Regions from separate parts of the Homo sapiens genome. Here region 1 is linked to region 2. The links are contacts of gene promoters, found by promoter capture Hi-C in human tissues and cell types (Jung and others, 2019). All regions are on one chromosome and are shown on one strand. Each heading gives the region's core, a stretch centred on a gene start or on the middle of the fragment in contact. The rest is flanking DNA. Distances are from core to core; before and after follow the strand shown.

Region 1 (6,609 bases), core at 2,566-5,065, 460 kb after region 2:
CTGTGGTCCCAGCTACTCAGGAGGCTGAGGCAGGAGAGTCGTTTGAACCCATGAGGTGGAGGTTGCAGTGAGCCAAGATTGTGCCACTGCACTCCAGCTTGGGTGACAGAGTGAGACTCCGTCTCAAAAACATAAAAAAAATTTAAAAAAGGGGGCTCTTTGTCCTTCTCCTTCCCAGGCTCCAGGATGTCTCTGTGGATGGTTGCTGGGTCAGCTCCTGTCCCATACGACTCCCTGCCAGCCTTTGTTCTGGAACCTCCTTCCCATCCTTGTCCCACCTCTGGATCTGACTGGGGATGTGGTGAGATAGGGCACCCTGTCTGCTTAGACATCTTCATAGGTTGGTGGGGCGTGGTGGCTCACACCTGTAATCCAACTACTTTGGGAAGCTTTGGCAGGAGGATCTGCTTGAGCCCAAGAGTTTGAGATCAGCCTGGGCAACATAGTAAGACCCCATCTCTACAAAAAAGTTTAAAATATGGCCAGGCATGGTGGCTCACTCCTGTAATCCCAGTGCTTTGGGAGGCCGAGGCGGGTGGATCACCTGATGTCAGGAGTTTGAGACCAACCTGACCACCGTGGTGAAACCTCGTTTCTACTAAAAATACAAAAATTAGCCTGGTGTGGTGGTGTGCGCCTGTAATTCTAGCTACTCAGGAGGCTGAGGCAGGAGAATTGCTTGAACCCGGGGGGCAGAGGTTGCGGTGAGCCAAGATGGTGCCACTGCACTCCAGCCTGGGCGACAGAGTGAGACTCCATCTCAAAAAAGAAAGAATTAGCCAGGCATGGTGGTGGGTGCCTGTGGCCCCAGCTACTCAGGAGGTTGAGGCAGGAGGGTTGCTTGAGTTGGAGGCTGCAGTGATTGATGATCGTGCTACTGCACTCCAGCGTGGTCGACTGAGCAAGGCACTGTCTCAAAAAAAAAAAAAAATTCTTAAAGGTGAGAACTCAAGGTTCGATTCTTCAGGTGGGAGATGTGGCTGATGCTGATTCTCTCATTGACATCTGGGGAAACTGAGGCTCTGAGAGGGTGCTGCTCCAGCTCCTGGACATACGGTGAATCAGCAGCAGGCCCAGCAGACCAGGCCCCCTGCCTGTGAGCACACTGACCCTTCCCCTCCTCACTCAGCCCTGGTGAGTCATCTCCAGGGGAGGGGTGCTGCCTCCACGTGGGTGATCAGAGCAGTGCCAGGGAAAGCACCAAGTTCAGGGTGTGCAGGAGCCAAGATGGGCAGAGGGACAAGCAGATGTTGCAGCTGGCCCAGGAGATACAAGCTCAAGTCTCAGCCTGTCCCCCGTTGGTGGGAACCCTCCTCCCCGTCTCTGAGAACTGAGGGGGTGGGAGGAGAAGAGAGTGCCGGCGGCTCCTGGGCTTCCATCCAAGCTTCCCCTCTCTGAGCGCCAGCTCTCGTCTCAGCATGGGCCTGGTGCAGACTCCGACAGAAGAGCCGCTCCCTTCTCTTCCCAGCCTGGATTCAGCACCCAGTAGGCTTGTTGGGAAACATGAGGGGTAGACATCACAACTGGAGGAAAGGATGGAGAATGAGGGATGGTCCGGGTGAGGTGGCTCATGCCTGTAATCCCAGCACTTTGGGAGGGTGAGGCAGGCAGATTACTTGAGGTCAGGAGTTCGAGACCTGCCTGGCCAACAATGCCGAAGCCTTGTCTCTACCAAAAATACAAAAATTAGTCGGGTGTGGTGGGACACGCCTGTAATCCCAGCTACTCTGGAGGCTGAGGCAGGAGAATTGCTTGAATCTGGGAAGTGGAGGTTGCAGTGAACCAAGATTGCACCACTGCACTCCAGGCTGGGCAACAGAGCAAGACTCTGTCTCAAAAAAAAAAAAAAAAAAAAAAAAAAAAAAAGAAAGAAAGAAAGAGAATGAGGGTTGGGCAGGGAAACCCAGTTCACAGTGGGTGAAGGGACAGCTAGCTCAGAGGGAACCGGAGAAGCAGAGAGCTCAAACCAAACTGAATGGCAGAAGAAGAAATCCAGATGAAGGGGGTTGGGGGAGAAACAAGCAGGCCGGGGAGAAAGAAAAGAAACCGTAGGAGGGAGAGATAAAAGATAGAAGTGGAGGAAAACAGGAAGCCAGAGTCTCCTGAGGAGAACAGGGAGAGACAGAGGGGTGGGATGGGGTGCAGGGTGGGTGGGAAGGAGGCAGATATCAGATAAGACTGGAGGAGAGAAGGGGGAGAATAATGACAGCAGAAAAAAAATGAAAATAGCTTAGAATAAAGGCACCAATCTCAGGTCATTTGGAGTTGCAACTCTGAGGAACAAGTATTATTAAGTTGGGCAGGCCGGGCTCGGAGCCCCATGCCTGGAATCCCAGCACTTTGGGAGGCCGATGGCGGAGGATCTCTTGAGCCCAGGGGTTTGAGACTAGCCTGGGCAACATATTGAGACCTTGTCTCTACAAATAATAATAAAAAGCTGGGTGTGGTGGTGCTAGCCAGTAGTCTCAGCTACTCAGGAGGCCAAGGTGGGAGTATCGCTTGAGCCCAGGAATTCCACATCAGCCTGGCCAACAAAGCCAGACCCCATCTCCACACACACCACCCCCCCCCCCAAATTAATCCTAGTGGTATGCGCCTGTAGTCTCAGCTACTGGAAAGGCTGAGGCGGGAGGATCACTTATCACTTGAGTCCAGGAGGTGGAGGCTGCAGTGAGCTGTGATGGCGGGTGACAGGGTGAGACCTTTCCCTGCCCCCTAAAAAAGAAAGAGGGGCAGAGGCCGGGCATGGTGGCTCAGGCCTGTAATCTCAGCACTTTGGGAGGCCGGCGGGTGGATCACTTGGTCAGGAGTTTGAGACCTGCCTGGCCAACATGGTGAAAGCTCGTCTCTACTAAAAATACAAAAATTAGCCGGGTGTGGTGGTGTGAGCCTGTAATCCCAGCTACTGAGGCAGCAGAATCGCTTGAACCCAAGAGGCAGAGGTTGCAGTGAGCCAAGATCGTGCCACTGCACTCTAGCCTGGGTGACAGAGCCAGACTCCGTCTAAAAAAAAAAAAAAGGGCAGAGAGAAAGATACACACAGACACAGATGGAGAGGAGGGGGCTGAGAATTGTGTGGCCAGTATGTGGGCAGAAAGAGAAACTGAGGCTGGGGCTTAGAGGAAATCACAGGGGGAGGCCAGCAGATGCGTGAAACTTGGTGAATCTTTATTAAACTAGGGTCCACCCCAGGAGGACGGCTGGGGCGGGGACAGGGTCTCCCGCTGCAGGCTGCGCGGAGGCAGGAGGCACGGGGTGGCGTGGGGTCGCATGGCTGCAGGCTTCGGCGTTCAGTGATTGTCGCTGGGCACAGGGGCGGCGCTGGTGCCCACGGCAGCCTGCACCTTCTCCACCAGCCCGGCCCACTGGCGCTGCATGTCTTCCACCAGGGGCTCGAACCAGCTCTTGAGGCGGGCCTGGAAGGCCTCGGCCTGCAGGCGTATCTGCTGGGCCTGCTCCTCCAGCTTGGCGCGCACCTCCGCCACCTGCTCCTTCACCTCGTCCAGGCGGTCGCGGGTCCGGCTGCCCATCTCCTCCATCCGCGCGCGCAGCCGCTCGCCCCAGGCCTGGGCCCGCTCCTGTAGCGGCTGGCCGGCCAGGGAGCCCACAGTGGCGGCCCGCACGCGGCCCTGTTCCACCAGGGGCCCCAGGCGCTCGCGGATGGCGCTGAGGCCGCGCTCGGCGCCCTCGCGGGCCCCGGCCTGGTACACTGCCAGGCGCTTCTGCAGGTCATCGGCATCGCGGAGGAGCCGCTTACGCAGCTTGCGCAGGTGGGAGGCGAGGCGCACCCGCAGCTCCTCGGTGCTCTGGCCGAGCATGGCCTGCACCTCGCCGCGGTACTGCACCAGGCGGCCGCACACGTCCTCCATGTCCGCGCCCAGCCGGGCCTGCGCCGCCTGCAGCTCCTTGGACAGCCGTGCCCGCGTCTCCTCCGCCACCGGGGTCAGTTGTTCCTCCAGTTCCGATTTGTAGGCCTTCAACTCCTTCATGGTCTCGTCCATCAGCGCCCTGCGGCCGAGAGGGCGGGAGGGTGTCGCACAGTGGGAGGCGGGGAGAAGGGCTGGGATGGGGCGGGCGAGATGGGGATGAGCCAGAGAGACCCAAGAGGGAGAGAAGGAACGGGGCAGAGGCCGAGAGAAGGAGACAGAGACAGATGCAGAGAGCAGATGCAGAGGGCAGAGGCAGAGACGAAGAAGGAGCTAGGAGGCCGGGCAAGGTGGCTCATGCCTCTAATCCCAGCACTTTGGGAGGCCGAGGCGGGAGGATCGCTTGAGCCCAGAAGTTCAAGACCAGCCTGGGCAACACAGTGAGACCCCATCTCTCTGTCTCTATATAAAAGAGCTAGGGAAGGACAGAGACAGAGCCAGGACGAGTGTGAGAGACTGAGTCAGAAGGGAAGAGAGAGAGACAAAGCTGAGAGAGAGAATTCCAGAGAGCTAAAGCCAGGAGTCAGAAATGGGAAGAGGAAGCTAGAACCAGCAGAGACCCAGGCCCCCCAAGACTTAGCGACAGGGGCAGAATGAAACCTGGACCTGGGGAGGTATAGCCGCCCACCAGGAGGGTCAAGGGCCAGGATGGGGACACTCACCTCAGTTCCTGGGTGACCTGGGAGCTGAGCAGCTCCTCCTGCACCTGCTCAGACAGTGTCTGCACCCAGCGCAGGTAATCCCAAAAGCGACCCAGTGCCAGTTCCCAGCGCTGGCCGCTCTGCCACTCGGTCTGCTGGCGCAGCTCGGGCTCCGGCTCTGTCTCCACCGCTTGCTCCACCTTGGCCTGGCATCCTGTGTGGAACAAGTTCAAGGTGGGTCAGGGTCCTTCTGACCCCGTCCAGGCATCTAGTACCTAGGGGCACACAGAAGGTGCTCCACAAATGCTTCTTTGGAGCCATGGTGGGCAGGGTGAGGGGGGAGTCGGTTTAATCACTTGGAAAGCATTATGTATTTATAAACAGGGTCTTGCTCTGTCACCCAGGCTGGAGTGCAGCGGCCTGAACATGGTTCACTGCAACCTTGACCTTCTGGGCTCAAGCGATCCTCCTGCCTCAGCCTCCTGAGTAGCTGAGAGCACAGGTGTGTGGCACCATGCCTGGCTAATTTTTGTATTTTTAGTAGAGACAGGGTCTCACTATGTTGCCCAGGCTGGTGTTGAACTCCTGGGCTCAAGTGATCCTCCCACCTTGGCCTCCCAAAGTGCTGGGATTACAGGGGTGAGCCACCGCGCCCAGCGGAAAAGCATGTATTGAGTGTCCTTGTGTGCCCCAGGCAGGGCTGTGTGGGGGTGATGGAGAATAAAGATCACAGCTGCCCCGTGTCTGGTATTCACTATCTGCCTGCAATGCATTAGAAACCTCTAACTCCCAGCCAGGTGCGGTGGCTCACGCCTGTAATCCCAGCACTTTGGGAGATCGAAACGGGCAGATCACCTGAGGTCAGGAGTTCCAGACCAGCCTGGCCAACATGGTGAAACCCCGTCTCTACTGAAAATACAAAAAAGTTAGTCGGGTGTGGTGGCATGTGCCTGTAGTCCCAGCTACTTGGGAGGCTGAGGCAGGAGAATGGCGTGGACCTGGGAGGCGGAGCTTGCAGTGAGCCGAGATCCCGCCACTGCACTCCAGCCTGGGCGACAGAGCGAGACTTCATCTCAAAAAAACAAAACAACAACAACAAACAACAACAACAAAACAACTTCTAACTCCTATCTCAAGGATGGGGGAAACCGAGGCCCAGAGAGCGTCAAATCGCTGTTCAGAGCCAGGAAGCAGCACAGAAGCCTCAGAAGAGGGGGCCCAGGGTCTGCCTGAATGGGGCCAGGAGGTTGAGGTGAGGATGAGAGGGGGAGGAGCGGGGGGAACCGAGCAAGCCCCGCCCCCATACCTGCCAGGAATGTGACCAGCAACGCAGCCCACAGAACCTTCATCTTCCTGCCTGTGATTGGCCAGTCTGGGGAAGGAGAAACTGTCAATCAACCGCCAGTGAGGACTCCTCCCACCCCCAGCCCGGCCCCAACCCGGCCTCACCCCAGGTTAGCCTTCCAAGCCTTGTTGCATTATCTGCAACAGCCTAATCCCAGCACATTTACCAAGCCGCCCCCAACCCATTCCCTATTTAACTCCCTCCTGGTCTTCTCTTATCTCCCCATCCCCAGGTCGGCCTCCATAGAAAATTCCATCTTCCTCTCCCGGGGTTCAAATTCCATCCCCCCACCCCCTCCCCACCGCCGGTTCCATCTCAGTCCCAGTCTCGCATTCCTCATTCTCCCTTCACATTCTAAGCTCCAACCTCACAGTTAAGCGCCGTGTTCCATTTATGAGCTAATTCAGTCCTCATTTTAAAGTTCTCCAATCGACGGCTAGCTACCGTGTCGCTGCCCCTGGCTCCCCAGTTATGGAGATCTGAGGACACTGGGGACACCCAGTAGGTGCTCGATAAATGATAGTGACAACTCGTGGAGTCCTGCTATGGCTTACATCCCAGTCCAGCTGCTCTCCCCACCCCACCTTCTAGCGGGTCGGGTCGTCTCTGCTGCCCAGCCCTTCCCAGGTCCAGTCCCCTGCTGCTTGCCTCACCCCCGCTCCTCCTCTCCCCAAGCCCGACCCCGAGTAGCTCTCCT
Region 2 (6,484 bases), core at 3,985-6,484:
CAGGTGGATCACCTGAGGTCAGGAGTTCGAGACCAGCCTGGCCAACATGGTGAAACCCCGTCTCTACTAAAAATAAAAAAATAAAAAAAAAAATAGCCGAGCATGGTGGTGGGTGCCTGTAATCCCAGCTCCTGGGGAGGCTGAGGCAGGAGAATCACTTGAAACCGGGAGGCGGAGGTTGTGGTGAGCCAAGATCGTGCCACTGCAATCCAGCTTGGGCAACAAGAGTGAAAATCCATCTCAAAAATAATAAAATAAAATAAAATAAAATATAAACCAGTCAGTTTCTTCATTAGAGTTCTGGAAATTCTTACCCAGTCCAAACAATATGATCCTAAAATTTATCAGAAACCTATACTCAGGCTGGGTACAGTGGCTCACGCTGGTAATCCCAGCACTTTGGGAGGCCATGGCGGGCAGATCCCTTAAGCCCAGGAGTTCAAGACCAGCCTGGGCAACGTGGCGGAACCATGTCTCTACTAAAAATACAAAAAATTAGCTAGGCACGGTGGTGCACACCTACAGTCCCAGCTACTCAGGAGGCTGAGGTGGCAGGATCACTTAAGCCTGGGAAGTTGAGGCTGCACTGAGCCATGTTCTCACCACTGCACTTCAGCTGGAGCAACAGAAGTGAGACCCTGTCTCAAAAAAAAAAAAAAAAAAAAAAGAGAGAGAAAAGAAACTTTTATGCAACAGTGCTTGTCAGGGTCCTTCCATCCTTTCTCTCTTTCTCCCTTTCTCTCTCTCTCTCTGTCTCTTTCTCTCTTTCTCTCTTTCCTTCTTTCTTCCTTTCTGAGACGGAGTCTGTTGCCCAGGATGGAGAGCAATGGCGCGATCTTGGCTTACTGCAACCTCTACCTCCCAGGTTCAAGCCATTCTCCAGCCTCAGCCTCCCAAGTAGCTGGGACTACAGACATGTGTCACCACGCCCGGCTAATTTTTGTATTTTTAGTAGAGATGAGGTTTCACCATGTTGGCCAGGCTGGTCTCCAACTCCTGACCTCAAGTGATCCGCCCGCCTCGGCCTCACAAAGTGCTGGGATTATAGGCGTGAGCCATCACTCCTGCCATGGAGCTGACTTTTGTTTTTTTCGAGACAGAGTTTCACTCTTGTTGCCCAGGCTGGAGTGCAATGGCGCGATCTCGGCTCAGCGTTAACCTCTGCCTCCCAGGTTCAAGCGATTCTCCTGCTTCAGCCTTCTGAGTAGTTGGGATTACAGGCATGCGACACCACACCCAGCTAATTTTTGCATTTTTAATAGAGATGAGGTTTCACCGTGTTGGTCAGGCTGGTCTGGAACTCCTGACCTCACATGATCCACCTGTTCCAGCCTCCCAAAGTGCTGGGATTACAGGCGTGAGCCCCCGCGCCCAGCCAGGAGCTTTCTAAACAAAATAAATAAGTAAAATATTCAGCATGTCACATGGTTAAATGAGCTCTCAAGAACAATAAAGCAGGGAAAGGGGATATAGTGTGTGTGTGTGTGTGTGTGTGCGTGCGTGCGTGTGTGTGTGTGCGTGCGTGCGTGCGTGTGTGTGTGTGTCTAGGAGGTAGATTTAATTTGGTGGTCAGGAAGCCCTCATTGAGAAGGAGACTTTTTTTTTTTTGAGACAGAGTCTTGCTTTGTCACCCAGGCTGGAGTACAGTGGCATGATCTTGGCTCACTGCAGCCTCTGCCTCCCGGGTTCCAGCAATTCTCCTGCCTCAGCCTCCCGGGTAGCTAGGATTACTGGTATGTGCTACCATGCTTTGCCAATTTTTGTATTTTTAGTAGAGACGGGATTTCACCATCTTGGCCAGGCTGGTCTCGAACTCCTGATCTCAGGTGATCTGCCCACCTCAGCCTCCCAAAGTGGTAGGATTACAGGTGTGAGCCACCATGCCGGGCCGAGAAGTTGACAATTGAGCAAAGAGCTGAGGGAGGTGAGTGTGTCAGCCACATGGCTATCAGGGGAAACAGCATTCCAGGCAGACAAAATAGCTGGTGCAAAGGCCCTGAGATGGGATGTGCTTGTTATGTTTTAGAGACAGCAAGGAGACCAGCATAGCTGAAACAAAATGAGCTGGGGGAGAGAGAGGAGGAGATCAGAGCAGTAAGGTGGGTTGGTATGGGGATGATGAGCAGTAAGCTAGTTACAGAGGACTCTGTAGGTGACAGTAAAGATTTTGGATCTGGGCTGGATGCAGAGGCTCACGCTTGTAATCCCAGTACTTTGGGAGGCTGAGGGAACAGGATGGCTTGAGCCCAATACCAGCCTGGGCAACATAGCGAGACCCTGTCAATAACAAAATATATTTTCTTCCTGTAGGAGATAGAAAAGTAAACATAAAAAAATTTATGTAAATAAATTAAGCCGGGCACAGTGGCTCACGTCTGTAATCCCACCACTTTGGGAGGCTGAGGTGGGAGAATTGCTTGAGCTCAGGAGTTCAACCAGCCTGGACAACATAGTGAGATACCCTCGTCTCTACAAAAAATTAAAAAAAATTAACCAGGCGTGGTGTCGTGTACCCGCAGTCCCAGCTACTCAGGAGGCTGAGGTGGGAGGATCACTTGAGCCCTGGAGGTCAAGGTGGCAATGAGCCAAATTCACACCACCATACTCCAGGCTGGGACAGAGCAAGACTCTGTCTCCAAAAATACAGCCGGGAAGGGTGGCTCACACCTGTAATCCCAGCACTTTGGGAGGCTGAAGTGGGTGGATCTTTTGAGGTCAGGAGTTTGAGGCCAGCCTGGCCAACATAGTGAAACCCCGTTTCTACTAAAAGTATAAAAATTAGCTGGGCAGTAGTGGTGCGCACCTGTAATCCCAGCTACTAGGGAGGCTGAGGCCAGAGAATTGCTTGAGCCTGGGTGGCAGAGGTTGCGGTGCGCTGAGATTGTGCCACTGTACTCCAGTCTGGGCGAAAGAGTGAGACCTTGTCTCAAAAATAAATAAATTAAGAATTAATTAATTTAAAAAAGAGATTTCGATCTGCCCCTGCCTTCCCCTCCAGCTGCCCTTTCTCTGCTCCCTGTGCTCAACTCAGAGCTCCACCCCCACAGGCTTCCTTTCAGCACTCACAGGCCTCAGCTTTCTTCTGGCCTAGAGCTTTTGTGTATGATGGTCTCTCTCCCTGGAACACCTTTCTCACTTCTCTCATCCATCCCCTCTTGCTGGTTGATCTCTTCTAATTATTTTCTGGCTCTACTCAAACCTCGCTTCTTCCACGAAGCCTTCTCTGATCACTTGGCCAACACTCACACCCCACAGTTGACAGTAGACATCCTGTCATAATAAGTCTTTTTTTTTTTTCTTTTTCTGGGACGGAGTCTTGCTCTGTCACGCAGGCTGGAGTGCAGTGGCGTGATCTTGGCTCACTTCTGCCTCCTGGGTTCAAGCAATTCTCCTGCTTTAGCCTCCCGAGTAGATGGGATTACAGATGCATGCCACTATGCCTGGCTTTTTTTTTTTTTTTTTTTTTTTTAGTAGAGATAGGGTTTCACCATGTTGACCAGGCTGGTCTTGAACTCCTGACCTCGTGATCCATCTGCCTTGGCCTCCCAAAGTGCTGGGATTACAGGCATGAGCCACTGCACCCAGCCCATAATCAATCTTTATGGTGACTTGAAGTTTTCCTTCACAGCACTTTTGTACTTGTGATTATACACGTGCGCACACACACACACACACACACACACACACACATTTGAGATAGGTTTTCACTCCTGTTGCCCAGGCTGGAGTGCAGTGGCACAATCACTGCCCATTGCAACCTCTGCCTCCCAGGCCCAGGTGATTCTCCCACCTCAGCCTCCTGAGTATCTGGGACTACAGGTGCACGCCACCACGCCCAGCTAATTTTTGCATTTTTTGTAGAGACGGGTTTTCACCATGTTGCCCAGGCTGGTCTCTAGCTCCTGAGCTCAAGCAATGTACTCGCCTTGGCCTTCCAAAGTGTTGGAACCACAGGCACGAGCCACCACTCCAGGCTGTAATCATATATTCATTTGTATATTTAATATCTGTTCTTTGAGGCCAGGCCTGGTGCCTCACCCCTGTAATCCCAACAATTTGAAAGGCTGAGGGGAGAGGATCACTTGAACCTGCGAGTTTAACCAGCCTGGGCAACGTGGTGAGACCTCGTCTCTAAAAAAATTTAAAAAATAAAACTTAGCTGGGCTTGGTGGTGCACACCTGTGGTCCCAGCTACTCTGGAAGCTGAGGTGGGAGGATCGCTTGAGCCCAAGAGGTGGAGGCTGCAGTGAGCTGTGACTGTGCCACTGCACTCCAGCCTTGGCGACAGAGAAAGACCCTGTCTCAAGGAAAAAAATCTGTTCTTTGAGGGCAGGTGCTGAGGCTGTCATGGTCACCTTTCTGTTCCCAGGGGCCAGCACAGGATCAGACACATGGTAGATGCCACATAGCTATTTGTTGAAGAAACAAACAAAAGCTAGCATTTATGTTTTATTTATTAGTTATTATTATTAATATTTGAAATGGAGTTTCGCTTTTGTTGCCCAGGCTAGAGTGCGACGGCGCCATCTCTGCTCACTGCAACCTCTGCCTCCCAGGTTCAAGCAATTCTCCTGCTTCAGCCTCCCGAGTAGCTGGGATTACAAGCATTTGCCAGCACGCCCGGCTAATTTTGTATCTTTAGTAGAGACAGGTTTTCTCCATGTTGGTCAGGCTGGTCTTGAACTCCCGACCTCAGGTGATCCACCTGCCTCAGCCTCCCAAAGTGCTGGGATTACAGGCTTGAGCCACCGCGCCCGGCCTGCAAAGCCATTTCTAACTCTTGGGCCCAGAAAGGATCACCAATTTCCCTGTCATTCTCCGTTAGACTATTCGCTACTGAGACGATTTTTTTTTTTTTTTGAGACGAGGTGGAGGGGCGGGGGTTCTCGCTATCTTGCTCAAGCTGATCTCGAACTCCTGGGTTCGATCAATACTCAGACAATCTTGGCAGGCGCAGGAGGACCAAATTCTAGTGAATGAGATCGAGTCTCTCGGCTCTTTCCCTTCCATGTTTTCTTTTTGATTGGCCCTCGACGATCCTCAGTGACGCCTCCCGCACCGCCTCACCCGAGAGTCAGCCGCCCTCGCTTTTCCGTGCGCACGCGCAGTATCCCGATTGGCTCTGCCCTAGCGGATTGACGGGCAGGTTAGCCAATGGTCTCGTAATATAGGTGGAGCGAGCCCTCGAGGATGTCCACGACCCGGCCTCTCGCTGAATATTCATGAGGGAGGCGGGTCGACCCCGCTGCACAGTCCGGCCGGCGCCATGAAGTGAGAAGGGGGCTGGGGGTCGCGCTCGCTAGCGGGCGCGGGGGGTCTTGAAGATGGGGTCATCGGTGGGCGCGCCTGGGTCCCCAAGGGGGCGAGGGGAGGGTGAAGGGGTGGGACGGGGGCAGCCGCAGGGAGCAGCAGTGATAGCGAGGAGACACTGAGGGGGCCCCGAGGCTCCTGAGGACCTGAGGGTTACCGGGGGCGCCGGGCCCGTCACCCTTCTCTGGGCTCGACGACCGGGCACTGTGGAGGCGGGAGAGGGGCTGAGGGGACGGGAACTGACCCAGCAGCCCCTGCCGCCAGGCTCAACGTGGACGGGCTCCTGGTCTACTTCCCGTACGACTACATCTACCCCGAGCAGTTCTCCTACATGCGGGAGCTCAAACGCACGCTGGACGCCAAGGTGGGTGGCCGGTGGGCCCGACCCGCCCACTCGACCGGTGGGGCTGCCACGCCTGGGCCTAAGACAGATTGCAGGACGTCTGGATTTTAGAAGTCCGAGGTCCCTGGGAATCCAGGACCCCATAATCTTCCGTTATCTAAAACAATAATGGTGAATAGGCTGGGCGCGGTGGCTCGCGCCTGTAATCCCAGAGCTTTGGGAGGACGAGGCGGGCGGATCACTTGAGGTCAGGAGTTGGAGACCAGCCTGGCCAACACGGTGAAACCCCGTCTGTACTAAAAATACAAAAATTAGCCAGGTGTGGTGGCGGGCGCCTGTAATCCCACCTACTCGGGAGGCTGAGGCAGGAGGATCGCTTGAGGCCAGGAGTTGGAGGCTGCAGTGAGCCATGATTGTGCCACTGCATTCCAGCCTGGGCAATAGTGACACTTGTCTCTTAAAAAAGAAGGGAGAAAAGTTCACTATATATCAGCTACTGTGCCAAATATTTAACCTGCAATTTCTCACAATCCTCATAGTCATGTTATGAGGAAGGTTTTATTATTAGGCCCATTTTATTTTATTTATTTATTTTTGAGATTGAATTACAGGTGCGCGCCACCACATCTGGCTAATTTTTTGTATTTTTAGTAGAGACGGGGTTTCACCTTGTTGGCCCAGCTGGTCTTGAACTTCTGACCTCAGGTGGTTCACCTGCCTCAGCCTCCCAAAGTGCTGGGATTACAGGTGTGAGCCACCACGCCTGGCTTTAGGCTCATTTTAGAGATAGGGATACTGAGGTCTGGGGAGGTGAAGGTACTTGCCTAAGAC

What was found. The method cuts DNA at HindIII sites, captures the fragments that hold promoters and counts their contacts. A contact is called where the count stands out against the background at its distance.
Region 1: a fragment that was not itself captured here is called in contact with the fragment with the promoter of ERCC2 in region 2 in 1 of the 25 tissues and cell types used here (spleen).

What each region holds. Positions count from the first base shown.
Region 1 is chr19:44,905,932-44,912,540 of GRCh38, reverse strand. It overlaps APOE (apolipoprotein E), which reads right to left. Exons shown (of 4, transcript NM_000041.4): 2 at 5,874-5,939; 3 at 4,589-4,781; 4 at 3,148-4,008. The coding sequence starts at 5,916. The coding sequence ends at 3,291. Among named protein-coding and RNA genes, the nearest start is that of APOE, 3.4 kb to the right of the region's middle. RefSeq lists an enhancer at 5,021-5,823. The HindIII fragment of the contact is 5,856 bases long and covers 888-6,609 here.
Region 2 is chr19:45,369,323-45,375,806 of GRCh38, reverse strand. It overlaps ERCC2 (ERCC excision repair 2, TFIIH core complex helicase subunit), which reads left to right and starts at 5,234. Exons shown (of 23, transcript NM_000400.4): 1 at 5,234-5,271; 2 at 5,575-5,674. The coding sequence starts at 5,267. RefSeq lists enhancers at 1-466, 4,941-5,020, 5,639-6,480. The HindIII fragment of the contact is 25,658 bases long and covers 1-6,484 here.